Regions from separate parts of the Homo sapiens genome. Here all the other regions are linked to region 1. Evidence: promoter capture Hi-C in 16 types of primary human blood cells and fetal thymus (Javierre and others, 2016). All regions are on one chromosome and are shown on one strand. The core of a region is centred on a gene start or on the middle of the fragment in contact, and the rest is flanking DNA. Distances in the headings are between cores, read along the strand shown. Region 1 holds the start of ETS1 (ETS proto-oncogene 1, transcription factor). Region 2 has its middle 90 kb from the start of LINC02725. Region 3 has its middle 72 kb from the start of LINC02725. Region 4 has its middle 48 kb from the start of LINC02725. Region 5 has its middle 31 kb from the start of LINC02725.

Region 1 (5,381 bases), core at 1,342-3,841:
TCTGTGGATAAATAGTTGGGGTGTTTCTACCTTTTGGCTATTGTGAATAACGCTGTTATGAACAATATTGTGCAGACATCTTTTTGAGTTCTTCTTTCAATGCTTGTGGCTATATATGTAGAGGTTGAATTGCTAGATCAAATGGTAATTTTATATTTAATTGTTTTGAGGAACTACCACACTGTTTTCTACAGTGGCTGCACCATTTGACATTCTCAGCAGCAACACACCCTTATTCCTATTTCTCCTTATTCTTGCCATTATTTTCTGTTTCTTTGATAATAGGAACCCCAATAGATGTGAAGAGGTACCTCACTGTGGTTCGAATGTGCATTTCTCTGATGATTAATGATGTTGCCCTTCTTTTCGTGTGTTTATTGGCCATTTCTGCATCTTTGGAGAAATGTCTACTCATGTCTTTTGTCCACTTTTAGATCAGGTTATTTGTTGTTGTTGCTGTTGAGTTGTAGGAGTTCTTTATATATTTTGAGTATTAAGTCCTTATTAGATATGTGATTTGCAATTTTTTTTCTCATTCTGTGGACTTCCCTTTCACTGTCTTAATAGTGCCCCTTGATGTACAACATTTTAAAACTTTGATAAAGTCCAACTTATCTATTTTTTCTTTTGTTGCCCAAGTTTTTTTTCCTGGGATAAGCTGTCATATCCCAGGAAATCATTGCTAAATCCAATGTCATGAAGTTTTCTTCTTTGATTTTTTCTAAGAATTTTATAATTTTCATTCTTATGTTCAGATCTTTGATAGATTTTTGTTAATTTTTGAGTATGGTGTAAGGTAGGAGTCCAATGTCATGCTCTTATATGTGGATACCCATCTAATGTTATATTTTTGAAAATACTGTTTAAAACAAAACTTACTGTTTTCCTGGGCATTCTCTAGGCAATTTATGACAGTGGTGGCTTATTTTGCACTATTAAGATTTCTAGTTTATGTTCTTCCACACCGTAAAAGGCCGTGTCAGAGGAGGGAGCTAAGGTCCTGAAGAGTTGCTTTCTATATAAACTCAGCATAGACAACTCCAGACTTCAGAACCCCTTGACAGCCACACTGTACACCCTTATAGAGCAAGAATCCAAGTCTTCTCAACTTTGTTTTTTTCAATTATCCTGCAAACATAGTGAATACAGTTGTAATTAGTTATGATTGGTATAATTGACCGTGGGCTCTTTAAATGGGGCAGTGTGCTGAAATTGACTGGGTTACAGGGGCAGGCTGAAGCTTCCCTAGCTCTCTTCATAGACTTCTTTTGTAGCATGTATTACATTTTTGGGGGGAGATCGTTGATTTATGTGTCTGTCTCCTCACTACAATGCAAACTTGCTATCTTTCTAGTGCCTAGAACAGTGCCTGGCACAGGCAATTTATTAAACTAAAGTGAACCAATAGCATTACCTCTTCCTTACTTCCAAGTTAATGTGCAAAGGCAGAAGATGAGCAGTAAAATCTTGCTTTACTTACAATGTCATCTTAACTGCATTGCCAGCTTTATACAATGAAGGCTGATGATGATATGGCTCCAAATGACAGTTATTAGATTTTCAAGGATTTTCTAAGTTTGTATCTTTATTAAAAAGAGAAAGAAGCCAACTATGACAAATCTTAACTCCCACCTCCTACTCAAAGAAGATGGAATCTTTTAGGATAAAAGTCTTAGATTAAGCAGCCAAATACTGACTTCTCAAAAAAAATTGTAATAACTCCATTCATAGAAATGAGATTATGCTGTAACATTCTTACCATAGTCCTGAATATGTGAATAAAAGATGCTGTGTATTTTCACTTAGGACAGATGTAAGATTTTCATATTGTTTACATTTTCCCTAAATGAGAAATGTATGAACACTTCTGCCCTTTTATTCCTGCACCACGGACCATGAGTCAGGGCTGCTAAAAGTATCCTTATTTTAGAGATTGCCTAAAACCAGACTTATATGAAAAGGGGATTTTTAGCTTTACTTTTCAGAAATCCCAAGTCCATATCCAGTCAGCTCTCTTCCACAAAATTATTTTCTTTTCTTTAGAAAATATCACATTTCATATCAAGTTATTAGAGAGAAACGGGAAGCCTGAGCAGGTGACTGGGTGGTGGACGTCCTGTGTTTCTAAAGCAATCCCTTTCCCTCACCTGAGACCTTGCCTAGGTTAATGGGGGCTCCATTGAGAAAGTCAAGGAACATGAAGCATGAATATTTACATATTCAGCAGAGAGTAAATGCATCAGCAAATGATGAGGTGAGATACAGTGTTATCCCACTGAACTAGTTCCCTTTTGCTCATCTCCCTCCCTGTTACTCTCCAAGGCTGAGTTATATTCAGCTGAAGCACAATTTGAAGAATACGAAATAATGTGTGATTTGGTGCCACCACTGTCAATCAACAGTGCTTTCCACCTAGACTGCTGTGCCTGTGCCAGTGGCTGCTGTCCTGGTGCCAGGGGCAAGAGGAAGACTGCCTTTTTTCCAGCTTTCCCTGGCTTGACCACACCCCCCAATTTAAGGAGGCAGCTCTATTAGAAACATTATGGTCTTTGCATCCTCTTAAGCTACGGAGCAGAGGATTCCCGCAGGTAGTTGGAAAGAGACCACAGACTTTGAGGGAAGCTCACTCAGGATCTGCTCTCCGGCAAAGTAGTAAGTGAGGTGTGTGTCAGTTTCTGCCTAAAACTTTTCAGTCCATTTTCCTTTTCCTGCTTTAAAAAAATTTCTGTGGAATTAAAGAGTAAGTCGGTAGGGAGATTCAGGATACAAGTGAGTTTTCTCTTTCTCTTTTCACGTCTTTCTATATTCCCATTTAATTGTTTAACAATTTTCAAAAATACTTCCTAACCTCGTCAGAATAGTCTGAAAGCAAGACTATGTTTTTAAAAATGTTCCCTGCTTCACAAAAGTAAAACCATGCACGTTTTAGATACCCGTAGATTACTTGTCAGAAACCCTGATTTTTTTTTTTTTTTTTTGCAAATTGGAGCACTTCCAAAGAAATAAAGCTGTAGTTAAATATATAAATTTCTTTTTATTCTCTTTCACTCCTAGTAAATCTATTGTTTTACTTTTTTCTCCTGCTAGTAGTTTAATGAATTGCTTTTAATAGAGAGGAAATTGCTACAGGTTTGAATCTTGCTAGCCAAACTAGCCTGTTTGGTGTTTTTCTCTGTCTTGGGACTGACCTGCAGTTGTCCAAAGATCTACAAGTTCCTAAGTCTGTTGTTGAGACATGGTGTGGGTGTGGGCCGCGGTTGTCTCAGAGTTAGGGAGGTATTTCTTGTCCCCACGGTAGAGCTGGACTCAGTGGCAGGAGATGTCGATGGCAATTCCTCTGCATCCGGTGATTTTATCTGGCCGTGACACTTTGTATGTGACTCCTCACCCACCGTTAAAGGTCTCTGTTACCAACTTTTAAAGTAGTATTTTCTTCAGGCAAACTTAAAAGGGTGCTGGGTCACTGAAATCAATGCATTCTATTGCAGGATTTCTTTATCACCTTTTGGGTAAGTTTTTGTTTTTAATCTCAAGTCCATTTTCCTTCTTACTTTAGACCACTGCCATGCAACTGAGAAAAAAGTATTTGTTAAACAGCAGGAAATACCAATTCTAAAATGATAACTCCATCAGCTCCATTTGATTTGTAAAATTACTGATACTATAACTCTTTCATCAGTTGTGGTTTTGGGTTTGGTGGCCTATTTTTATCCAAAGAGAAAACGCTTTTTCTTCAGGGGCCGTGGGCTGTGCACAAGGGCTGCAGGGTGGCCACTGCTGCTGTTGAGAGTCTTGCTCACCTGTTGTTCCTGAATGGAGGGAAGGGAGAGCTAATGGGTTAATGTCTGCAAAGTGCTTTGAAGATGAAAAGGTCTTTTCATGTGTTCAGTAGTGCAGTTATTAATATTAATATTTGAAGAAGCATGCTGCTTCTAATTGTAAATCAACTACTTCCATCCTTGCCAACTCAATAGTGAAATAACAAACAGTTCAGGCATCCATGCAGCCTCTTCCGTCCTGGTTCCGCTGCTGAGGATGTGGGAAGCCAAGCCGAGAGCCTAATTATGGAGGGGGCATCTTTGCCCGGCAGGCTCCTTACACGGAGGTGCTAGTTGCTGGCTGTGAAAGGATGTCCTGAGGCAGAGCCTGGGGGAAGCTGGTAGAGGGGTGGGATCCTTTGGCATCTGGCAGTCTGTGGCCAGAGCACCGACTTGGGCCAGTGGCCGGTCCCGGACGATAATGGAGTTCAAAGGCAAGTGGGGTCAGAACTTGAACCAGCGCTGGGTCGGAGAAGGGAAAGTGGCTGTGCACTTGGATTATGTCAGTGATTAGCTTTGTAACAGAGAACAGGGATTGAACGTGTCTGTGCCTTCTTCCCTTCATCTCTAAAAGGTGAGCAATCATTTGCGCCCCGCCTGGTTTACAAATATGAGAGAATAGAAGTAAACAGCATAGGGCTATGAAAAATCAGAGTGCCAGTGAGGTCAAGGACTGTCTGAAGTAATACTTCAACAAACTGGGTGTGTGGGTGCAGGTCCTCTCACCTAGGGGAGGGTGAGGCAGAAGGCAAAACACTGCAAACAAATAATCAACAGATTTCTCTCTTTGATTGCACTGGTGAATTTCTTACTGATAACTGAGGTTCTGATGTACCTTGTGATTTTAATTATTGGTGAATAGATCTGTTTTCCATAGTGACTATCATTTTCTAATTACCAGTTCAAAATTCCCAACTGTTCACATCAAACAGCAGAAGGGAATGATTACGTCCCACGAGCTGGGACCCTTCCTTCCTTCCTTGCTTCCTTCCTTCCTTGCTTCCTTCCTTCCTTCTTCCCTCCCTTCCCTCCCTTTCTATCTTTCTTTTCTTTTCCTTCTTTCTTTCCTCCCTCCCTCCTTTCTTTTTCTTTCTTTCTTTCTTTCTTTCTTTCTTTCTTTCTTTCTTTCTTTCTTTCCTTCCTTCTTTCTTTCTTTCTTTCTCTTTCTTTCTTTCTTTCTTTCTTTCTTTCTTTTCTTTCTTTCTTCTTTCTTTCCTTCCTTCCTTCCTTTCTTTCTTTCCTTTCTTTCTTTCTCTTTCTTTCTTTCTTTCTTTCTTTCTTTCTTTCTTTCTTTCTTTTCTTTCTTTCTTCTTTCTTTCCTTTCTTTCCTTCCTTCCTTCCTTTCTTTCTTTCTTTCTTTCTTTCTTTCTTTCTTTCTTTCTTTCTTTCTTTTCTCTTTTTTCTTCCTCTTTCTTTCTTTTCTCTCCCCTCCTTTCTTCTTCTTCTCTCTCTCCCTCTTCCCTCCTCCTTCCCTTTCCTCCCTTTCTTTCTTCATTATGGAAATGATAAAGTATTTAGCATTTGAGCAAAATTAATGTGGTATGCAGCAATTTAGTGGCATTT
Region 2 (5,381 bases), core at 1,799-4,298, 580 kb after region 1:
CATGCTTCCTATCTGTTTCAGGTACCCCAATCAATCATAGGTTCAGTCTCTATACATCACATATCTTGGAAGTTTTGTTCATTCCTTTTCATTCTATTTTTTTTGTTCTTGACTGCCTGTCTTATTCCAGAAAGATAGTCTTCAAGCTCTGAGATTCTTTCCTCTGTTGGTCTATTCCGATATTGATACATGTGATTGAATTGTGAAGTTCTCATGTTGTGTTTTTCAACTCTATTAGGCCAGTTATGCTCCTCTCTAAACTGGCTATTCTGGTTATTAGCTCCTGTTTGGTTTTGCCTTGATTCTTAAATTTTTTATTGAGTTAGAACATGCTCCTTTAGCTCAGTGAAATTTATTATTACCCACCTTCTGAAGCCTACTTCTGTCAATTTAGCCATTTCAGCCTCAGCCTAGTTCTGTGCACTTGCTGTAGAAGTGTTGTGGTAATTTGGAGGAGAAAACGCACCCTGGTTTTTGAGTTTTCAGCATTTTTGCATTGGTTATTTCTCATCTTTGTGGGCTTATCTACCTTTGATATTTGAGGTTGCTGACCTTTGAATGGGGCTTCTGTGGGATTTTTTTTTTATGTTGTTGTTTTGCTTGTTTGTTTTTCTTTTAACAGTCAGGCCACTCAACTGTAGGATTCCTGTGGTTTGCTGGGGGTCCACTACAGACCCCAGTTGCCTTGGTTTCTCCCATACGTGGAGGTATCACCAGTGAAGGACAGTAAACAGCAAATATTGCAGCCACCTCCTTCCCCTAGAAGCTCTGTCTCAGGGAGGCACTGATGTGTTGCTGGCCTGTGCACACCTGTAAGAGGTGGCTGGGGACCACTGCCGGGAGATCTCATCCAGTCAGGAGGAATGAGATCAGAGACCTGCCCAAAAAATCAGTCTGGTTGCTTCTTGGTAGAGCAGTAATGCTGTGCTGGGGGGCATCCTTCCTCATTCAGACCACCTGTATTTTCCACAGCTGGCAGGCTGGAATTGCTAAATCTATAAAACTACAGAGATGACAGCCACCCCTTCCCACAATAGCATCATCCCAAGGAGAGATCAGAGCTCTATCTGTGGAACCAAGGTCCCACCCAGTGAGGAGAAATGGGTTGAGGCCCTGCTTCAAGAAGCAGTCTGACTATGATCTGACAAGGCAGCTGTACTGCATTGTTTGTGGTCCCTCCTCAACCAGACCACCTGTATTCTCCACAGCTGGCAAGCTGGAATGGCTGCTTCTATTGAACCATAGAGATGGGGTCCACTCCTCCCCCAAGGAACTCACTCCCATCTCAGGTGGACTCCAGCCTGCTGCCATTGGCTGGCTGGGGTTCCAAGTCAGTGGGTATTAAGTTGTGAGGTGCCATGGAAGTGGGGCCTGCAGAGGGGTGCTGTTCGGCTCCCTGGATTCAGCCCTCTTCCTAGGAATATGTACAGATGAATTTTCCACTTTGCCAGATCCTGGGACTGGAGTTAGTGAGCAGCTGCTCTGCTGAAACTCCATATAGCTTTGTGTATTGGACCCAAAGCCCTGGTGGCATGGGCTCGGAAGGAGATCTCCTGATTTGCAGGTTGCAAAGATCCATGAGAGAAGCATGGTTCCCCAGATGAGATCGCACAATCACTCACCGCTTCCCTTGGCTGTGGGGGGAAGGTTCCTTTGGCTCCGTATTGCTTCTGGATGGGCTGTTGCCCCACCCCCACTCCCTGCCTTTCTTTGTTCTCTGTGGGTCAATTTGTTTGCCTAGTCAGTCCCAATGCAAGAATCTGGATATTTCAGTTGAAAGTGCTGAAATCATTTGCCCCTTTTCATTCCTCCTCGTGAGTGCCGTGGACTGCAGCTGCTTCCAATCAGCCATCTTGCCTCCCTTCGTTAATTTTTTAATGACATTTAGAAACATACTATTCTGGGGTTCTACTGCAATAAGGGAAACTGTAATGAAAAGACAGCAGAATATGTTAATAGGCTCCTAGACATTGGACCAATGTTTTTTCTTAAAGTTAAATTCTCTGTGCAATACTCCATTCAGCTTCTGCTGAGGAAACTCATTGTGATAATGCTGGGATTCTGGAGGATAAAGTTGACGTATCTGTTATGATAAACCAACACACCTTGCAGCTATTCATTGGCTGTGCTTAGAACTAAATTTATTTCTCAATCATTTGGTGAGTTTAAAATGCAGAGTCTCCAGTTTTTATCTGCTCTGAACAGCACAGCATACTGCTCCAGTAAGCATAATGGATGGAAATTAGGCTCGGAATTCTGGCTGGAGTTTTTTCCATGTGAGGAAAGTAGACACAAATAAATCACCCTTTCTGCATAATGCCTTCACAGTAAACCAAAGGATGCCATGAGAGGAGATGATGGCCACAGCTCAGTAGCCTCTACAGATAGCTCTGGTAAGTAGAAAAAGTATGATCTAAGACCTGATGTTGCTGCTATTAATTGTAGACTTAAAGGGTCTGGACTTTTGGTGGCTGCAGGGAGTGAAGTGTATCGTCACTTCTTCTGAGCCCTGCCCTTGACTGACTCAGTCACTTTCTTGGGCTCAACTTTTCCATTTGAACCACAAATTGGGAGTAAATTTTGCCTTCCTAAAATGTTAGTCCCTAGTAAGAAATCTACTTTTGTAAAAATCAAGGCAAGAGTTCTGAGAGGATGAATCTCAAAACAGAGCCAGTAAAACTGAGCATTTTCCTATAAAGCTAATGTAAAAAAACTTGGAAGGCGGTACTATGAAAAAAAGTGAAATAAGTAAAACCAATGAAAAATTACAATCCTTGTGAAGCTTCTGAAATTTAGTTCAAACAGCCTTTTTATAAATACAATATATGTAAACATTATATAAATAAAACTCAATGTTGTTATGCACTTTTCAAAGTATATCCACAGTTACTGTCTCATTTGAACTTCACAATAAGCACTGTGGGCAGATATAATTCTCTTGGTTTTGCTTTTATAAAAACTGAAAGTCAGGAAGATAAAATGATTGGCACAATGTCACAGGATGTGTTAGTAGTACCACCTCGCACAATGCCTGACAGATAGAAAGCACTGGGTAAATATTTATTGAGTGAATGAACATATGAATGAAGGGGCCTGATTCCTAGTTTACTGTTTATTTCTAATACAATGTGTCATGAACTCCTGATACCTTCTGCTATATTATTGGTATTAATTGGGGACATCCTTTGTAAAGAAAGTTACAAACTTTCAGTGAATTATCTTTCTATTTTTCTTTGCCAGGGACACTTTTAAATAATTCTGCCTTTGTATATCTCTGTATCCTCCTTTCTTCACTCATTATCAGAATAAGCTTTTATAAGGTCCTAGGAGTGAGGATATAAGTGAAAGTATCAGAGTTAAATCCGCTTCTTCCTATAGCTTGATATTGAGAAAAGAAAGCAAAGATTTAAATTTTCAGGACCAAGTGGTTTGTTCAGTTAAGTTGCTTCTAATTCATATACTTTGACCACGAGACCATCTTTCTTTGTGTAGGTTCCTAAAAAGCTGAATCCTGCAGTGAATGCCATATACAGGCTCTCTCTCAGCAGGAGTTCATGGGGAAACCAAAAACCAGAGCATTAGAAGAATTTGAAGCCTGTGGTACATATAACTACAGCAAATATTAAGCACAGCCTTACGTTTAGCCCTATTACCATAAATCATCACTCAGGGGCCAGTTATCTCAATTCTCAGTAATTCTCAGTATCTCAGACATGCCTAGTTTTTAACAACAAAAAAGAAAAACAAATACAAAGCATGTCTGAAGGCAAGAAGAAACAAAGTCTGAGAGATAAAGCAAGCATCAGAACCAGACTCAGATACAACAAAGAGTCAGAATTATCACATTGGATATTTAAGATAACTATAATTAATATATTAAGAGCTATAATGGAAAAAGTAGACAATATGCAAGAAAAGATGTGTTTTGTAAGCAGAGACATGAATATGCCAAAAAAGAATTTAAAAATTAATGTTAAAAGTCAGACACACTATAACATAAAGAACAATGTCTTTGATGGGCTCATTAGTAGACTGGACAAAGCTGAGGAAAGAAAATCAGTGACCTTGAAGATAGGTCAATACAACTTCCCAAACTGATTTGCAAAGGGAAAACATAATGAAAAAAAATGGTATTAAACAACTGTGAGAAAATGTCAAAAGATATAACTAACATACAGGTATTTATTTTTAACATACAGGTATTTAGAAAACCAGAAGGACAAGAAAGAAAGAACAATAAAGCAGGGGAAATAACTTAAACAATGTCTGAAAAATTTCCAAGCTTAATTGCTAACAATAAACCACAGGTTTAGGAAGCTCAGAGAACATCAAGAAGAAAAAAAAAATAGCCAAAAAACCCACCACATAACTCCAGGAATATCATTTGAAACTGCAGAAAGTCAAAGGCAGAAAAACATCTTGAAGGAAACCAGGAGTAAGGGTGGAAAGATGGGGTTGGAAAACACTCCCTACCTGTAGAGGAACAAGGAAATACAGAGAGATTCTCAGCAGAAACTATACTAGCAATAAGAGTAACATGAAATCTTCAATGTGTTGAAAGGAAAAAAATGCCAGCATAGAATACTATACCTAGAAAATGATTCTTCAAAAGTGACAAAGAAATAAAGACTTACAAAGATAAAAAACAAAAAAACTGTAGAAATTTATTGTTAGCAGACTTTCCCTGCAATAAATGTTAAAAATAAAAAAGTTCTCCAGGGAGAATAAAAATGAAACCCAGAATGAAAACTCAGATCTACATAAAGAAAGCAAGATTTTCAGAGAAAGAATAAATGAAGGTAAAATAAATTAGTTTATGTTTCTTATTCTAAATTTATTTGAAGACAATTGTTTGTTTAAAGTGATACTAGTAAGAATTTACTGGAAGATTACAGCATATGGACAATATAAAGACTAAGGTTAAAAGTGAAGAGATGGAGAAAATCACATAATGATAACGCTAATCAAAAGAAATCTGGAATAGTTATATTAATTTCAGATGAAGCCAACTTCATAACTAGAAAAACTATCAAGAATGAGAGGCATTTTATACTTATAAAGGGTCAATTATCCAAGAAGATGAACTTAAAAGTTTTACGATGTTTGTATTTAAAAACAGAGCATTAAAATATTTGAAGCAAAAAAAAAATCCCACAAAAAAACAAATAGAATTGACAGGAGAAATAGACAAATCCACTATATAGTTGAAGACTTCAACATTTCTTATTCCATTAACTGATAGATAAGCAAGCAGAAAACCAGTAAGAATATGGTTGGCCTAAATAGCACTATCAATCAACTTGGTCTAATTGACATTTATAGAAATCTCCATAAATAATAGGAACCACACCTTCTCAAGTACACATAGAACATTAATCTAG
Region 3 (5,381 bases), core at 1,114-3,613, 560 kb after region 1:
AACAAAAATATGTTCCAATTGACAGCAATCAGGTTTCATACTGGGGGTCTTGAAACATATTCCCCACTGGGCATCCACTGGGGGTCTTGAAACATATTCCCCACAGATATGGGGGAGTGCTGTACCTACAATATTATCCTGTACCCCATTTTACCTTCCTGTGCAAGACTGTTAAAGGGGTTAAATGAGATGATGCATGCGGAAAGCCTATCACAGATCCTGAAGCAATAGGTTGCAATGAATGTTAGTTAAAATCACAAGTAGGTTCCCAGGAAGCAGACCCTGAGGCAGAGATAAGAGAGCAGAATGTGTATCAGAGAGTATTGTTGGATCAACACATGGGGGAAAGAGGGAGAGGAAGCAAGATTGGACAGAAAGTTGAGTTGATTTGCAAGGAAGCCTCACAGCCAATGCCATAGGAAGCTTGAGAGCTAGGCTGGTTCACTGGAGTTGTCATGAATTGGAACAAGGGAGCCACATCTTTATAACCCTGCATTGATCAAGCTTTAGATGAAGCCTGCCCTGAGAAGGAGATGTGTGACTTTGGGTGAAACAATTTTCTTCAGCCAAGGCAGTCGTCAAAGAGGTCTGAAAGCTGAGGCAGTCAGCTGCTAGCAGCTATGGGGAAACGCCCTTCACTCCTGAAACTGTCACACTGAGGTATCCATCTGTTGTATTAATACTTGCAATATTTATTGCTTTTATTATTATTATTATTGGCTTCATTACAATATTTTGTTAAAATTTTTTCAAGTTTAGACATGTTTGAAAATTGATGATTTAAATAATTTAGACCTACTAGAGAAGCGGAAATTGAGTCCTAGAGTGAGCTGGGTGGGAACCCCAGTGTGCATCATGTATGGGCTAGGACCCTGGTCCAGCCCTCTAGTATCCTGTCTGCCTTCAGTCTTTAGTCTCCAGTTCTTTCCTCCCTTAACTACTGGGTGAATGAAGCCCTTGTCATAGTCTGAGCCATCTATAAGTAAGAGAAACAACCCCCAGACCTACATGCATTTGTTTCATTGGAGAACCAGTGTGTTTCAAAATTAAACCTTCACCTAGTTAGGTATTTAGGGACTAGGGATGCCATTAGAAGAAATAGGATCCACTCTATGACTCTGGGATGGGACAGGATTCATGAGATTTATGGCCATGAAGGCCTTTGAGGATAACTTCTATGGTTATAAATTAGGTATAGGAGTATAATATGCATTCCTCCGGAAAAAGCTAAGAGCAGAGAAATAGAAAAGGAGAGTGATAATCTTACCTAAATTCTAATCCTAGGATAGCTGCTGCAGTTGAGCACAAAATCTGGCTGTGAGTTTCCTGGCAGTCAAATGGCTTCACAACCCTCTTAAAACTTCTTCTTTATGGGGAGACCAGGGACTCAGAGAGAGCTAAGTGTTGAGCTCAGGAGAGTCTCACCTGAGATAGGTTCATCTGTGGACTCCTCTTACAGATGATAGACAGGGAAGCCTTAGATGTCATACGACACTTGGGGATGTGGTGTGGTATTTAAGTGTGGGTGTACGTATGTGTAAATGTGTGTCCACTTATTTGAATCATCGTATTTACACCTGTGCAAATTTGTGGTGGTTTAAAATATCTCCACTGATCATACAGTGCCTATCTGTAGATGCCCCAGGAATATTCAACCAGCATTAACCCTGTAGGAGAAAATACTTTACTAATGCCAACTTCTAGGAAGATGACAAGTATAATTTCCAGTTGTCATTCTTGCCCTAGGGGGCTTGAACAGAATATATTAATGAGGGCCAGGCTGCCTCGGGCTCTTCATGAGGCTACTTCTTAATCATTTAGCCATCTGATCACACCACCTCCCAGCCTTGACCCACAGCAGAAATTTAGAGCTCTTAGGAAAAAGGCAGGCAGTATAAGATGGTGAAGATTGTATGGCATGCATCTTCCTTTCAAACATGACATTAGAATGAGATATCCTGACTGCCCTTTAGTTTCACAGTGGCCCATTGGGAGCCCTAAGGATCTGATTGTAAGGTAAACACCAGAAAGTGATACGTACATAAGCAATGTGTTCTCTAGACTTCTCTGTACCCAAAATTATTAGTTGACACCATTAGCATTAGTAGTGTCTTTCCTTCTTCCCTTTGATAAAACAAGAACACAATTGTAACCCTAATGGGCCATCTTTGAAGAACAGAAGCTTATGTTTCTGATCAATATACCAGCAAGCCCACTTGACAAAAGGGTTAGGATGGTATTAGAAACTAATCTTTAAAAAAATGTCCATGCTTATGTTAAACAGTGCTAGCATCTTTCTCTAGTATCCTTTTTGCATTAAAAAATAATGCTTAGTGAGCTTTTACAAGGTGCTCAGTGCTGGGCCAAGCACCCCCATGTCTGATCTCATTTAATCCTCTCAACAGCCATATGAAGCAAGTACTATTATTAGATCTGGTTTATAAGTGAAGAAACTGGGGTTTAGAGAATAATTTGTTCAAGGTGACTTAACCAGTAGTGGAGAGATACCGACTTAGTGCAGTTTGATGGCAGAACCAAGCTTCTCAACCATCCTGCTGTACTCACTCTTATGAAGATATCAGAGGATAGCAGAGAGAAGACTGTTTCTATTTCTTTGTCTCTGGGGTGCTCTGTGACCCACTGCTAGTCTTCACACCTACAGATAATTCTTATTAGAATTTGAAATAAAAATTGTAGCAGCCTTTTAATGTTTACCTGTCTATCCCAAGCAGCCTTCTAAGGAAATCAAACTTGTCACTTCTTGACTTCATTTCACACTATGCATTCATGCCTAGGACATCAGAGATCTTAGTGTCTCTGAGGAAGGACAAACCTTGAGCAATCAAGGTCCTTTACAACAGGTCCTCAGTAACTTTGTCTCATTCTATCTCAGCTTTCATTCAGCATGTGCCATCCCAGGCACCATAGACTAGAGTTATTGAAGGTCACTCTGTTTGCATAGTGTCTCTGATCAGATCATATCTGCTTATTCCCTTTGCCTGAAAAAAATTATTTTCCTTCCTCATCTGTGGAACTTCAATTTGTCTGTCCTTGAAAGAGTATCCTAAGTGCTACCGCTGATGTAAATTCATCCTGATCCCTCAGGCAGAATAAATCTCTTCTCTGTGATGCTAGAATGCTTTGAAATGCTCTCCATTATGAATCTGTATTAGTCAGGGTCCTCCAGAGAATCATAACCAATGGAATGTGCATAGCTGTAGAGATCTATGGATCTATATACACATCCTCTATCTATCTATCATCGATCTATCATCTATCATCCTCTATATCTGTCATCTATTTATCAATCATCTACCTATAATATCTATCATCTCTCTATATTTGTCACCTATCAATCTTCTATCTATCACTATCTATCATTTATCTTTCTCTATATCTATCCCCTATCTATCATCTGTCTATATCTGTCATCTATCTATCTATCATCCATCTATATCTGTCATCTATTTATCAATCATATGCCTATAATATCTATCATCTGTCTATATTTGTCACCTATCAATCATCTATCTATCACTATCATTTATCTTTCTCTACATCTATCACCTATCTATCATCTGTCTATATCTGTCATCTATCTATCTATCAATCATCTATGTATTGAGAGATTTATTTTAAGGAATTCTCTCATGCAATTGTAGGGGCTGGCAAGGCTGAATTCTGAAGGACAGGCCTGCAGGCTGGAGACCCTGGAAAGAGTTAATGTTGTACCTTGAATCTAAATGCAGTCTGGAGGCACAATTCCTTCTACTCAAAAGACCTTTTGAGGTCTTTTCTCTTAAGGCCTACAACTGGTTGGACAAGGCACATTCACATTATGAAGGATCACCTGCCTCACTCAAAAGCTACTAATTTAAATGTTAATAATATCTAAATAATACATTTACAGCAATATTTAGACTGGTGTTTAACCAAAAATGATACCATAGCCTAGCCAAGCTGACACATAAAATTAACCATTACACACTGTTAGATTTTTCTGCAACTACTTGTTTGTGTCTCCCAGCTCCTCTAGAATATGAACTGCTTGTGGGCAGTGATCCTCACATTTTAGTCTCATTGTGATCATAATAAACATCACTTCCTTTCACATATAAAACTGTGAGCACTGCATCTACTGTCAAAAAAATGTGTTTCAAGAGCAACATGCTCAGTGCATAAGGCAGGCAGCAGGGAGGAAACTAGAAATGACTCAGCTATAGTCTTTGACAGCAGTGAACTGATTTTGCAGTGGATGAATAAGCCCCTGGCTTCAAATATGAGAATAGGTTTCCTCGAATCAGGTCCAATGCCTCTCTTTGGCCAGTCGACTGCCCCGAAGCAGGCTGGGTGCATCCTGTCATTCCAGGGCCCAGGAACCAAATTCTGAGGGAGGGTAGCAGCTCTCCAACCTACTATCAACACCTGATGGGGTGCTCAGAATGCACCCCATCAGGTGGCTGATGGAAGCACTACAAGATGGTCTAATTCTACCTAGAACTTATATTAACTTCCTTTTTGACTGTTTCCCTCCCAGTTCCCTTGATGTTCCTTGGAGCCATGAGGGGCAAAGAGGTGGCCCCTTGCTGCCCACTAGGTGGTAGTGGAATCCCACCTCTGTCACACTCAGCACTTTCTGCTCTCTCAGCCACCAAAGTCTGATGACAAAACTTCTAATCTGCTGCTGGGAATTTCAGGTTAACTGACTAAGTCACTTTAATTTTCTTGGGAAAATAGTTGCAGTCACACAAAAGATAAGAAGAGGCTCCTGAGCCCCCGACACCTGCAGTGTGAGGGCAGCCCAGCCTTTCACAGCCCCAGTACAGAGAGAAACTTCTTCTCCTGCTGCCCAGCAGACACACATGCCCCCACCCGCAACCCCACAGTCAGGTCAAAGCTTGCTCCTGGCACAATCCGTGTTTACTTCCACGTCTCCAAACCTGGAAGGATGGCATACTTTGTACCTGCTGATGTCAGCCAATGACCTCTCAGCCTCTCTGCCTTCCTCGCCTGCTGCTGCAGGGAAGGCAGGTTGCAAGGGCAGAGCTGATCATAAATTCTAGTGATCTTCTGTAAGATCATTTGCAGCATCAGACTCTTTAATAGACTCTGCTTATTCCTGCGGTGTAGGCTCAAAAAATTTAAGTAGTAAAAATAAATAAAAATCTCATGTCAGTTAAACATAGAGATATGGGCTTTAAAAAAAATCTTTCCCCTCCTCCTTATGTTTTTTCTTCTATGAATGTATTTATGTAACCTCTGCAGCTAAGATTTTTGAAGGGCAAACTTTCCCTAGACAGGGACAATTTTTAGTTTTAGTTAATGCAGTGTACAGGATAAGCAATGGTGCCCTGTGCAGAGTTAGCGCCCATAAATGTCAG
Region 4 (5,381 bases), core at 1,635-4,134, 540 kb after region 1:
TTGGCCTATGTTCAATGCCCACGTCTTCAGGACGGTTGGAGCTTCATCTTTATGGCTTACATTTTATGTTACTGATTCACACTTTCACTTCTGGGTGATTTTTCCTTATTGGTGTTCCTAGTGCCTTTGTTTTATTATTGTGAATGTGGTGTCATCTCCGGAAGACCAGATTGTGTTCAGCCTGCACACCATTTATCTCTTTAGCTTCTTTACTTCCCTCTTCTTCAGAATCTGACAGGTAAATTCTAATAGGAAAGCTTCAAACCCATAGAGATGGCTCTACATGAAGTGTTACTCATCAATCCCTCTGGTATTTTTTCACTGAAGCTTCGCTCATGGAGGTCTCCTGGTTTACAACACCTTCCTGTATTTCAGAAGCCTCTATGGCACAAAAGAGTTATGCATTGTCTTAGACAGAAAATAATTGTTTGATCAATCAGATCTTTGTGGATGAGCAACCTTTGATTTTTTCCTTTGGGCCTATTTTCCATTTTCCTTGAAGTTCACAGAAAACCAATCACCATCTCTTTGCTCTTGTATACCCTGGCTGCATTGTTTATCATTCCTGTTCTTCTTGTCAGACTTCATGGCAAGCTTAGTCTTCAATTTACAATCTTGTCCTTCTGTTTCTCTCAAAAAATGTTCCTAATGCCTCCTTTCTTCCTTTCTTCTAACTTTTTCAACTTTCTCCCATTTGCTATTAGCAGCCAGAGGTAAACCCAGTCACCCTATAACAGAGTGGACTCTGCAGTGAAAGGGGCTCACCCTGGATGTTTCTCTTCTCCAGGAATTCCACCTTGTGGCTTACTTTGTAAACGGTCATGGTGGCTGCTCCTTTATTTTGTTTTTCATTTTTGAATAGTCACACTGTGTTGAGCCGTTCCTTACCTCTATCCCTGCCACCCCGTCTCTTAGAGGATTCCTGCACAAGCTGTCTGTGCCATTTTCCTCAGTGTCACCTGCCCGTGGCTGCCGTGTCTTGAAAGCCCATGGCTACTTCCCTTTCCCATCCTGCTCACACTCAGAAGGCTGGGATTGGAGCTTTGATTCTTGCTTAAACTCTTCATTGCTCATCACTTTGATCCTGCCTTTGCGTATTTCTTCTTTTTGGTCTTTGATTTTGCTATTTCTGCTCAAATTTCTGCTTTTTTTTTTTTTTCCTATTTAAGAACTCCATTAAATGATTCCACAGCTGGAAATATCTATTTACTTCCCCAAAGATGGTGGCTTTATACTTTCCCTTGAAAGCCCCCCACCTCTCTCTTTCAAGTGTTCATTTTTCTCTGAAATTTTTGGAAGTGAGAATGGGCAGTCTTCATTTTTCTTAGCATAGTTTAAATTTGTTCTTTTATTTATTTATTTATTTATTTATTTAGAAGCAGTTTTGCTCTTGTTGCCTAGACTGGTGTGCAGTGGTGCGATCTCAGCTCATTGCAACCTCCGTCTCCCGGGTTCAAGTGATTCTCCTGCCTCAGCCTCCCAAGTAGCTGGGATTACAGGCATGCGCCACCATGCCTGGCTAATTTTGTATTTTTAGTAGAGATGGGGTTTCTCCATGTTGGTCAATCTGGTCTCGAACTCCCGACCTCAGGTGATCTGCCCACCTCAGCCTCCCAAAATGCTGGGATTACAGGCATGAGCCACCGCACCTGGCCTTGTTCTTGTTTTAACAGGAATCTGTTCTTCCTCCAAGTACTTCTGTCAATTTTGTGTCTGGGAAATTTAATGTAGCCTTTACTGAAGCATGACTAAAATAGGTACTATTATTCATTAACTCCACCACTCTGACCATAAATCCAGTCTAGTCTATTTCTCCACTTTTCTTGGTCAGCGAATGTTGCTGTAAGGACACTCCTCTAGTAGCTCATTCTCACAAGGCATGTTAGAAACCCACTGGCAACACCAGTCTTCTTGCTTTGTGTAGAATCTATTCTATGCATCATAAAAACTATTATTAAAATGATTTTTCAGGCAAAAATAATATTTAGTAGAATTTTCTGTGTTAGGCACTGTGCTAAGTATTTTCTAACATCAGCTTTGTTTTATACTTATAAAATACCTTATGAGGCAGGTAAAAAATAGTAGAACAATTTTATGGCTTTCTTTTTTTATAGGTAGAGATTTTATAGGTAGAAACTAAGGGTTGACAAGAGTATGATCCATTCAGTGGTAGAACCAGAATTCTAATGCATGTCTTCCAGTTTCCACGGTGCCACATGACACATCGTTTACCTTAACCTTTTTCATCATTAAAAAAGTCATGAAATATTTTAAGTATAATGAAAAGTAAATAACATAATCAGCATAATTGATTAAATTTCAACATTTTACCATATTTCTTTCAGAATTATTTTTATTATTAATAATAGTAGCAATATATTACATAAGTTAAATATTATCATAGATGCAGTTGAAGAGCTACATGGACTCCAGTTCAGTTTCATTATACTGAATTTGGTGTGTTATCATTCTTAGCTAATGTTCAGTGTTGTGCTGAGAAAGCGTTGATGTTTATTAGTTGATTTTGTTTGTGTTTTTTTCGTTTGTTTTGCTTTATGTTATTAAGAATTGTGTTTCTTTAATTAGTGTACTATTTCTTTCTGTGGTATTAGTAGATGGTTGAGGTCAGGGAGTACATGTAGAGGTAAAGCACCTGTCTATTCCATAGAGAACTAGATATGGGAGCTGGTTCTGAAGTTCCCAGAAGCTGAAGAAGAGTTTGTATTTTACAACGGCTGCTCAAGTCATTCTTCACTTAACTTTGGTGATTCGATTATTTTGAACAGTGGAATAAACTGAGCAATTCATTTTTGTTCAGTATGAGTAACTCTTGCTTATCTATGTAACCTTCTTTCACAAACAAAATGTCATTGTTAACTTGGCTTTTGTTTTTCTGACTTGTGAGTCAACTACAAAGTGGCATTAACAGAGACGTTGATACTGTATTTCCAGCTGTAAAACTGGGTTTTAGGAGAAATGGAGTAAAAAACGTGTATTATTAGAATGCCAAAGGCAACAGTTAACCAGGACTATCCCTAGATGCCTTACTAACTAAGTACTAGATATTTATATTTCTAAAAGCAAAGTTCTGATGGAAAGCTCTACCAACTTAGGGATTGCATAACTTATGAGGAATATTGGGAACTTCAATAAAAGGAAGAAAAGTTCACAAAACTAGCATTATAATGAGAAGTCGATAAATAGTATCTTTTAAAATAATAACTCTATAATTATTGTATGTTTACTTGGATTAAGCACAATGGAAACTACTTTAAATATATTTCCTTGTGTAATACTCATAATTACCCTATTACATATTCTTAGTCTCATTTTTTTAAATAAGGAAACCGGGGCTTAGAGAGCTTAAGCAATTTATGTAAAGTTACCCAGTTATTAAGTGAACAGGCAAAAATCTGTTTAAATTCTCTTAAATATCATCCTGGAGATTGACCTTTCTTCCAGCAAAGCCTGTCAGATCCTAGTATTTAATGTACTAAAGTAATCAGGCAAAGTAGGAAAAAATTAAATCAGAAAAGGAAAGATTTGTCCATTCCTTGTGTTTCTGCAGGAAACTCTACGTATTAGCCATCATGTCTAGCTTATACTGGATTTTCAATTATTTGACCTTTTGTCTGTTTCATTATCGCATCACTGGTTATTTTTGTCTTGTACGGCACCCAGTGTATATAGCATCAAGTACTAATAAAAGGAACTTCCAAATACAACACTTTTCCCTCTGGCTTAGTGGTGTCCAAGATTTATGAAACTACAATAACTTTATTTATTGCACAACATAACTCTCCCCAAAGGAGTTCTGCAATTTTCATTGTGTTTTTCCAGTTAAAGATAAGAGTAATTGGAAAATTAGTACTGTTTCAGAGATCGTCATTATGGTCTTAGGATATAGAAGACAACAAATGTAGTTAGATTCCCTGTTAACATAGTTTCTGCTACATAATAAGTCATCAATACATGTTATAGAATATTATTATTTGTCTTTAGTAAAATAAATCATAACAAGCATATACATACAAAAATGTAAGAATGAGATATATGGAATGAAAAATGCATAATGATAACTTTTAATAGGCAGCTGCTCTATCATGACAAAAAATACACAGGAAAGACATGAACTAGCTTTTGAGTTTATGATAAAAAATTTAGGCTAAAAAGCTATTTAATGTTTGGAAAATGAAATTTCTAATAGAAATTTTATTAGCCAGGCTCTAATTTATTTCTGTTCTAAAAGATAACCATGGATTAAATGAAATAAGAGTCTCTGCTTTCCTAAGAACTTACATTACATGAAAACATTGCCTCAGTCTCAGTCCCTGCTAACAGTAATTTTCATAGTACTTCCCAATAATTTTTACATAGACTATTTTAGCCTTTAGAAAAATGCTCTAATAAAATAGCTGCAGCAATTTGCAGACAGGGAAGCTGAGAAGAAGAGGTTAAGTAAGTTACACAACCATGTGGAACAAACGGCCCACATTTTCCATCTCCAAATCAGGATATTTCCAAAACTCAACTTCACATCTGTGGTGTGTAGCACATTCCTAGCACGAATTATCATAATAAACAGAGGGAAATTCACTTTAAAACAATAAATTATTATGCTTGGATAATGGCAAACGATGGGTCATTACTCAATTAACAAATTTGTAAATTTGTGTCTTAAAATTGTTTGACTAGATTTTGGCTTGTGTGGTTGGCAAAGAGGTTGTGAAGTTCAGATTTCCTGCTGTGGAGAGCCTAATTTACTCACCACCCCATATGGACCTCCTACTGTGTTTCTTCCTGCTACTCTCAACCAATGACTGACTGCATTGGGTACTAGGGCAGGCTCAGTCCTGTGGGAGGTAGGACTTTTCATAGGTGTTAGCCTCTGAAGGCTCTCCCTACCTTCTCCTGATCCCTCCGTCAATAAATGTCTCACACATCTAATCTCAATTTGGAATCTGCTTCTTAGTGAACCTGAACTAATGAAATTTGTATCATTGCCCTTCCTCATGTTCCCCTTTTCAATTAATTAATGTGTCCATTCTCCATGTCTACATGGATTTTCTCCTTTCTATGTGGAATCTCCAAAATGTAAGTGCAGATCCATATAGCTAGATCTGATAACTAACTGGTTGGGAATGAAATATAAATGCAGACTTTCCCAAGCTTGTTTAAATCTTCCAGAGCCTATTAATGTAAAATCAAAAGTCAGGGAGATATGTGGTCAAATTGGGATAAAGAAGGGCATAGTGAATCTCCTCTGCAGGTTTGTAGTCCACTTTCACCTTTTAAAGAGTGAGAAAACCTATCATTGAACAAAATAGAAAGTTTAATTTTGTTTCTCTATTTAAGTTTATCTGTTTACACCATATTTATTT
Region 5 (5,381 bases), core at 1,031-3,530, 520 kb after region 1:
ACCCCTTTGTTTTGGCCAATTTCTCCCATTTGGCGTGGGTGTATTTACCCAATGCCTGTACTTCCATTGTATCTAGGAAGTAACTAACTTGCTTTTGATTTTGCAGGCTCATAGGCAGAAGGGACTTGCCTTGTCTTGGAAGAGACTTTAGATTGTGGACTTTTGAGTTCATGCTGAAATGAGTTAAGATTTTTGGGGACTGTTGGGAAGTCACGATTGGTTTTGAAATGTGAGGACATGAGATTTGGGAGGGGCCAGGGGCAGAATGATATGGTTTGGCCGTGTCCCCACTCAAATCTCATCTTGAATTCCCACGTGTTGTGGGAGGTACCTGGTGGGAGGTAATTGAATCATGGGGTCAGGTCTTTCCTGGGCTGTTCTCATGATAGTGAATAAGTCTCATGAGATCTGATGGTTATATAAGGGGGAGTTTTCCTGCACAAGCTCTCTTCTGTTGTCTGCTGCCATGTGAGACGAGCATTTCACCTTCTGCCATGATCGTGAGCTTCCCCAGCCACATGGAACTGTAAGTCCAATTAAACCTCTTTCTTTTGTAAGTTGCACAGTCTCAGGTATGTCTTTATCAGCAGCATGAAAATGGGCTAATACATCCCATAACCTGATTTTATAATATTTGCATCACCTCAAAAGAGTTACCTGTGTTCACTTGCAGTTAATTAATGTCCTTACTCCTGACTCAAATACTTGTATGCTCCCACCCTTCTAGTTTTGTGTTTGCTACAAATTTCATAAAAATAAAATCATACAACATACAGTACATTGTGTCTGCTTTCTTTAATTTAGGATTTTAAAAAATATTTATCCATGTTGCATGTATCAGGATTTTATTTCTTTATGTTTCTCAATAGCATTTCACTGTATGCATATATTGCAAATTGTTTATGCATTCACCAGTTTGACACTGGGGTTATTTCCAGGCTTTGGCTATTATAAATAAAGTTTCTGGAACATTCATGAATAAGAATACGTGTAGACATACGATTTAATTTCTCTTGCATGATACAGGAGTGCAATGGCTGGGTTATATGATAAGTGTGTGTTTAACTGTGTAAGAAACTGCCAAATTGTTTCCCAAATTCTCTGTATCATTTCACATCTCCATCCACAGTGTAAGCAAGATCTTGCTTTTGAGGTTATTCCGTTTTGTTTGTTTTCATTTGAAGCTCCACAGGCATCTGATGAACAGCTGTGTATGTCAGTTTGAAGCCAGTTGATTAGGTTATTTAACTGTTAACTAAAATTTTGTGGGATAAGTGTAACCACTGATATAAAAATTCTTCTTCCTCTTTCTGTCTTTTTTACAAAACATAACTGAGAAATTTTACAATCAATTCTAACAGTCTTTTTTAAAACCTTTTATTTTAAGTTTAAGGGTACATATGCAGGTTTGTTGTATAGGTAAACCCATATCATGGAGGTTTAATGTATATATTTTTTCATCACCCGGGTATTAAGACTAGTACCAATTAGTTATTTTTCTTGATCTTCCCCCTCCTCCCACCCTCCACTCTCAGGTAGGTTCCGGTGTCTGTTTTTCCCCTGTATGTGTCCATGAGTTCTTATCATTTAGTTCTCACTTACAAGGGAGTACATATGGTATTTGGTTTTCTGTTCCTGCATTAGTTTGCTAAGGGTAATGGCCTCTAGCTCCATCCATGTTCCTGCAGAGGGCACAATTTTGTTATTTTTTATGACTGCATAGTGTTCCATGGTGTATATATGGCACATTTTCTTTATCCAATCTACCATTGATAGGCATTTAGGTTAATTCCATGTCTTTGCTATTGTGAACAGTGTTGCAATGAACATATGCATGCATGTGTCTTTATGGTAGAATAATTTATATTCCTTTGGGCATATACCCAGTTATGTGATTGCTGGGTTGAATGGTAGATCTGCTTTTTAGCTCTTTGAGGAATCACCACACTGCTTTCCTCAATGGTTGAACTAATTTACACCCCCACTAACAGTGTATAAGCATTTTTTTTTTCTACAACCTCCCTAGCATCTGTTACTTTTTGACTTTTTAATAACAGCCATTCTGACTGGTGTGAGATATTATTTCATTTTGGTTTTGGTTTGCATTTCTCTAATGATCAGTGATGTTGAGCTCTTTTTCATATGTTGCTTGGCCACATGTATATCTTCTTTTGAAAACTTTCTGTTCATGTCTTTTGCCAACTTTTTAATGGGGTTGTTTCCTTGTAAATTTGTTTAAGTTCGTTATAGATGCTGAATGTTAGATCTTTGTTGGATGCATAGTTTGAAAAATGTTTCTTCCATTCTGTAGGTTGTCTGTTTACTCTTCTTTTGCTGTGTGGAAGCTCTTTCGTTTAATTAGAGCCCCTCTGCCAATTTTGCTTTTGTTGTAATTGCTTTTGGCACCTGTATCGTGAAATCTTTGCCAGTTTCTATGTCTAGAATGGTATTGTCTAGGTTGTCTTCCAAGGTTTTTATAGCTTTGAGTTTTATATTTAAGTCTTTAATTCATCTTGTTTATGTTTGTATATGGTGTAAAGAAGGGGTCAAATTTCAGTCTTCTGAATATGGCTAGCCAGTTATCCCAGCACCATTTATTAAATAGGAAGCCTTTCCCCATTGCTTGCTTTTGTCATCTTTGCTGAAGATTGGATGGTTGTAGATGTGCAGCCTTATTTCTGGGCTCTCTATTCTGTTCCATTGGTCTATATGTCTGTTTTCGTACCAGTACCTTGCTGTTTTGGTTACTGTAGCCATGTAGAATAGTTTGAAATCAGATAATGTGATGCCTCCAGATTTGTTCTTTTTGCTTAGAAGTGCCTTGGCTATGTAGGCTCTTTTTTGGTTCCATATGAATTTTAAAATATTGTTTTTCTAATTCAGTGAAGAATGCCACTGGTAGTTTGATAAGGATAGTATTAAATTTATAAATTGCTTTGGGCAGTATGGCCATTTTAAATATATTGAGTCTTCCTATCCATCAGCATAAAATATTTTCCCATTTGTTTATGTCATTTATTTTAGGACTTTCTTAGTTCCCATTGTAGAGATCTTTCACCTCCTTGTTTAGTTATATTCCTAGATATTTTATTCTCTTTGTGGCTATAGTTTATGTGATTGTGTTCTTGATTTGGCTTTCAGCTTGGACATTGTTGGTGTATAGAAATGCTACTGATTTTTGTACATTGATTTTTGTATCCTGAGACTTTGCTTATTAAGTTGTTTATCAGCTTAAGGAGTTTTTGGATCAACACTATGGGGTTTTGTAGATATAGAATCATGTCATCTTCAAACAGGGTTAGTTTGACTTTCTCTCTTCCTATTTGGATGCCCTTTATTTCTTCCTTTTGCCTAATTGCTCTGGCCAGGACTTCCAATACTATGTTGAATACGAGTGGTGAGAGTGAGCAGCCTTATCTTGTTCTGGTTTTCGAGGGGAATACTTCAAGTTTTTTCCCATTCAGAATGATGTTGGCTATGGGTTTGTCATAGGCGGCTCTTATTATTTTGATGTGTGTTCCTTCAATACCCAGTTTATTGAAAGTTTTTAACATGAAAGGATATTGAATTTTATCAAAAGCCTTTTCTGCATCTGTTGAGATAATCATGTAGTTTTTGTCTTTAGTTCTGTTAATGTGACAAATCACATTTATTGATTTGCTTATGTTGAACCAACCTTGGATTCCAGGGATAAAACCAACTCGATCATGGTGGAGTAGTTTTTTCATGTGCTGCTGGATTCAGTTTGGTAGTATATTGTAGAGGATTTTTGCATCGATGTTCATCAAGGATATTGGCTTGACATTTTCTTTTTTATGTTGTGTCTCTGCCAGATTTTGGTATCTGGCCTTATAGAATAAGTTAGGGAGAGTCCCTCCTTCTCAATTTTTTGAAATAGTTTCATTAGGAAACTACCAGATCATCTTTGTACCTCTGATAGAATTTGGCTGTGAATTTATCTGGTCCTGGGCTTTTTTTGGTTGGTAGAATGTTTATTACTGATAAACATTACTATCTGTTCAGAGCTCATTATTTGTCTATTCAGGGATTCAATTTCTTCCTGCTTCATTTTGGGGAGGGTGTATAAGTTCAGGAATATATCTTTTTCTTCTAAATTTTCTAGTTTGTGTGCATATAGGTATTCATAATATTCTCTGATAGTTATTTGTATTTCTGTGGGCTTAGTGGTAATATCCCCTTTTCATTTCTAATTGTGTTTACTTGGATCTTCTCTTATTAGTCTAGGTTGTGGTCTATCTATTTCAGTCTTTCCTTATCTTTACATTTTAAGCCCTCTGTTATGCCAGATCTTAGGGATCTACAAGTGTGGAGCACAGCAACTCATAACAAGATGTTTAATAGCTAATGTACTACTTTTTCAGGATCATCTCTACATCCACAGGTAGAATTGTGGAAGAGGTAGGAACATTAGGTCTCCAGTCAGTCTGTCTGGTTTTTTATTCCTGGCTCTACTACTAACCATCTGTGTATCTTAGGATATATTATTTACTTTCTCTGTGTAACATATTTTTTTAAATCTTAAAATAGAGATGACAATAGTACTTATCTCATAAAATTGTCATGAAGTTAATAGAGAAAATACATATAAAGTACTTAGAAAATTGCCTCACATATCACATATACTATATTAAAAATAAGAGTGGAAGGCTTATAATAATGCTTTTTTTGTATAGACAGTCTCTCTCTGTTGCCTAGACTAGGGTGCAGTGGCACGATCATGGCTCACTCCAGCCTCAAACTCCTGGGCTCAAGTGATCATCCTGCCTCAGCCTTCCAAAGTGCTCAGATTACAGGCATGAGCCACCACACCTGGCCTAATGATAATGCTTAATGCAAAGGAATGATTGCTAAAATTCCTGGATGTAGTTGGAGAGATCCAACTCAGTTAATCTCCTACATGTGAGTCCTTTTAGGGAATATTAAAGTGATTAAAATATAGTTCTAGAACCAAAGAAACAAACTCGTATGTGTGTGGATAATGTGAAGGGTAGAGGGAAAGTTAAATACACAAATATTAGGATGAAGATCAGAATGCAAGCTTCTTTGGTTCTCTAATTCATTTCTTCTCTCACCTTATACTGATAAGAAGGATGACCCATAACACCAGTCCTTCATCCATCTTTGCTCCTGCCACCCTGTCCCATATATATATATATATATATATATATATATGTATATATATACGTGTATATATGTGTGTATATATGTATATATGTATATATGTATATATATACGTGTATATATGTGTGTATATATGTATATATGTGTATATATGTGTATATATATGTATATATGTGTATATATATGTGTATATATGTATATATGTGTATATATGTGTATATGTATATATGTATATACAC

What was found. The method cuts DNA at HindIII sites, captures the fragments that hold promoters and counts their contacts. A CHiCAGO score of 5 or more calls a contact.
Region 2: a contact is called between a fragment that was not itself captured here and the fragment with the promoter of ETS1 in region 1, in 3 of 17 cell types (total CD8 T cells, naive CD8 T cells and naive CD4 T cells). The highest score is 7.5, in total CD8 T cells.
Region 3: a fragment that was not itself captured here is called in contact with the fragment with the promoter of ETS1 in region 1 in 7 of 17 cell types (naive CD8 T cells, naive CD4 T cells, total CD8 T cells and 4 more); the score reaches 14.9 in naive CD8 T cells.
Region 4: a contact is called between a fragment that was not itself captured here and the fragment with the promoter of ETS1 in region 1, in 8 of 17 cell types (activated CD4 T cells, non-activated CD4 T cells, naive CD8 T cells and 5 more). The highest score is 15.7, in activated CD4 T cells.
Region 5: a fragment that was not itself captured here is called in contact with the fragment with the promoter of ETS1 in region 1 in 6 of 17 cell types (activated CD4 T cells, non-activated CD4 T cells, total CD4 T cells and 3 more); the score reaches 12.9 in activated CD4 T cells.

What each region holds. Positions count from the first base shown.
Region 1 is chr11:128,584,768-128,590,148 of GRCh38, reverse strand. It overlaps ETS1 (ETS proto-oncogene 1, transcription factor), which reads left to right and starts at 2,591. Exons shown (of 10, transcript NM_001143820.2): 1 at 2,591-2,661. LOC105369565 (a long non-coding RNA gene) reads right to left here. Exons shown (of 5, transcript XR_948163.3): 4 at 3,189-3,809; 5 at 490-1,128. RefSeq lists a silencer at 2,432-2,638. The HindIII fragment of the contact is 9,036 bases long and covers 1,243-5,381 here.
Region 2 is chr11:128,002,649-128,008,029 of GRCh38, reverse strand. No RefSeq gene overlaps it. Among named protein-coding and RNA genes, the nearest start is that of LINC02725, 90 kb to the left of the region's middle. The HindIII fragment of the contact is 528 bases long and covers 2,785-3,312 here.
Region 3 is chr11:128,021,056-128,026,436 of GRCh38, reverse strand. No RefSeq gene overlaps it. Among named protein-coding and RNA genes, the nearest start is that of LINC02725, 72 kb to the left of the region's middle. The HindIII fragment of the contact is 357 bases long and covers 2,185-2,541 here.
Region 4 is chr11:128,044,711-128,050,091 of GRCh38, reverse strand. No RefSeq gene overlaps it. Among named protein-coding and RNA genes, the nearest start is that of LINC02725, 48 kb to the left of the region's middle. The HindIII fragment of the contact is 4,575 bases long and covers 597-5,171 here.
Region 5 is chr11:128,062,421-128,067,801 of GRCh38, reverse strand. No RefSeq gene overlaps it. Among named protein-coding and RNA genes, the nearest start is that of LINC02725, 31 kb to the left of the region's middle. The HindIII fragment of the contact is 5,563 bases long and covers 1-5,061 here.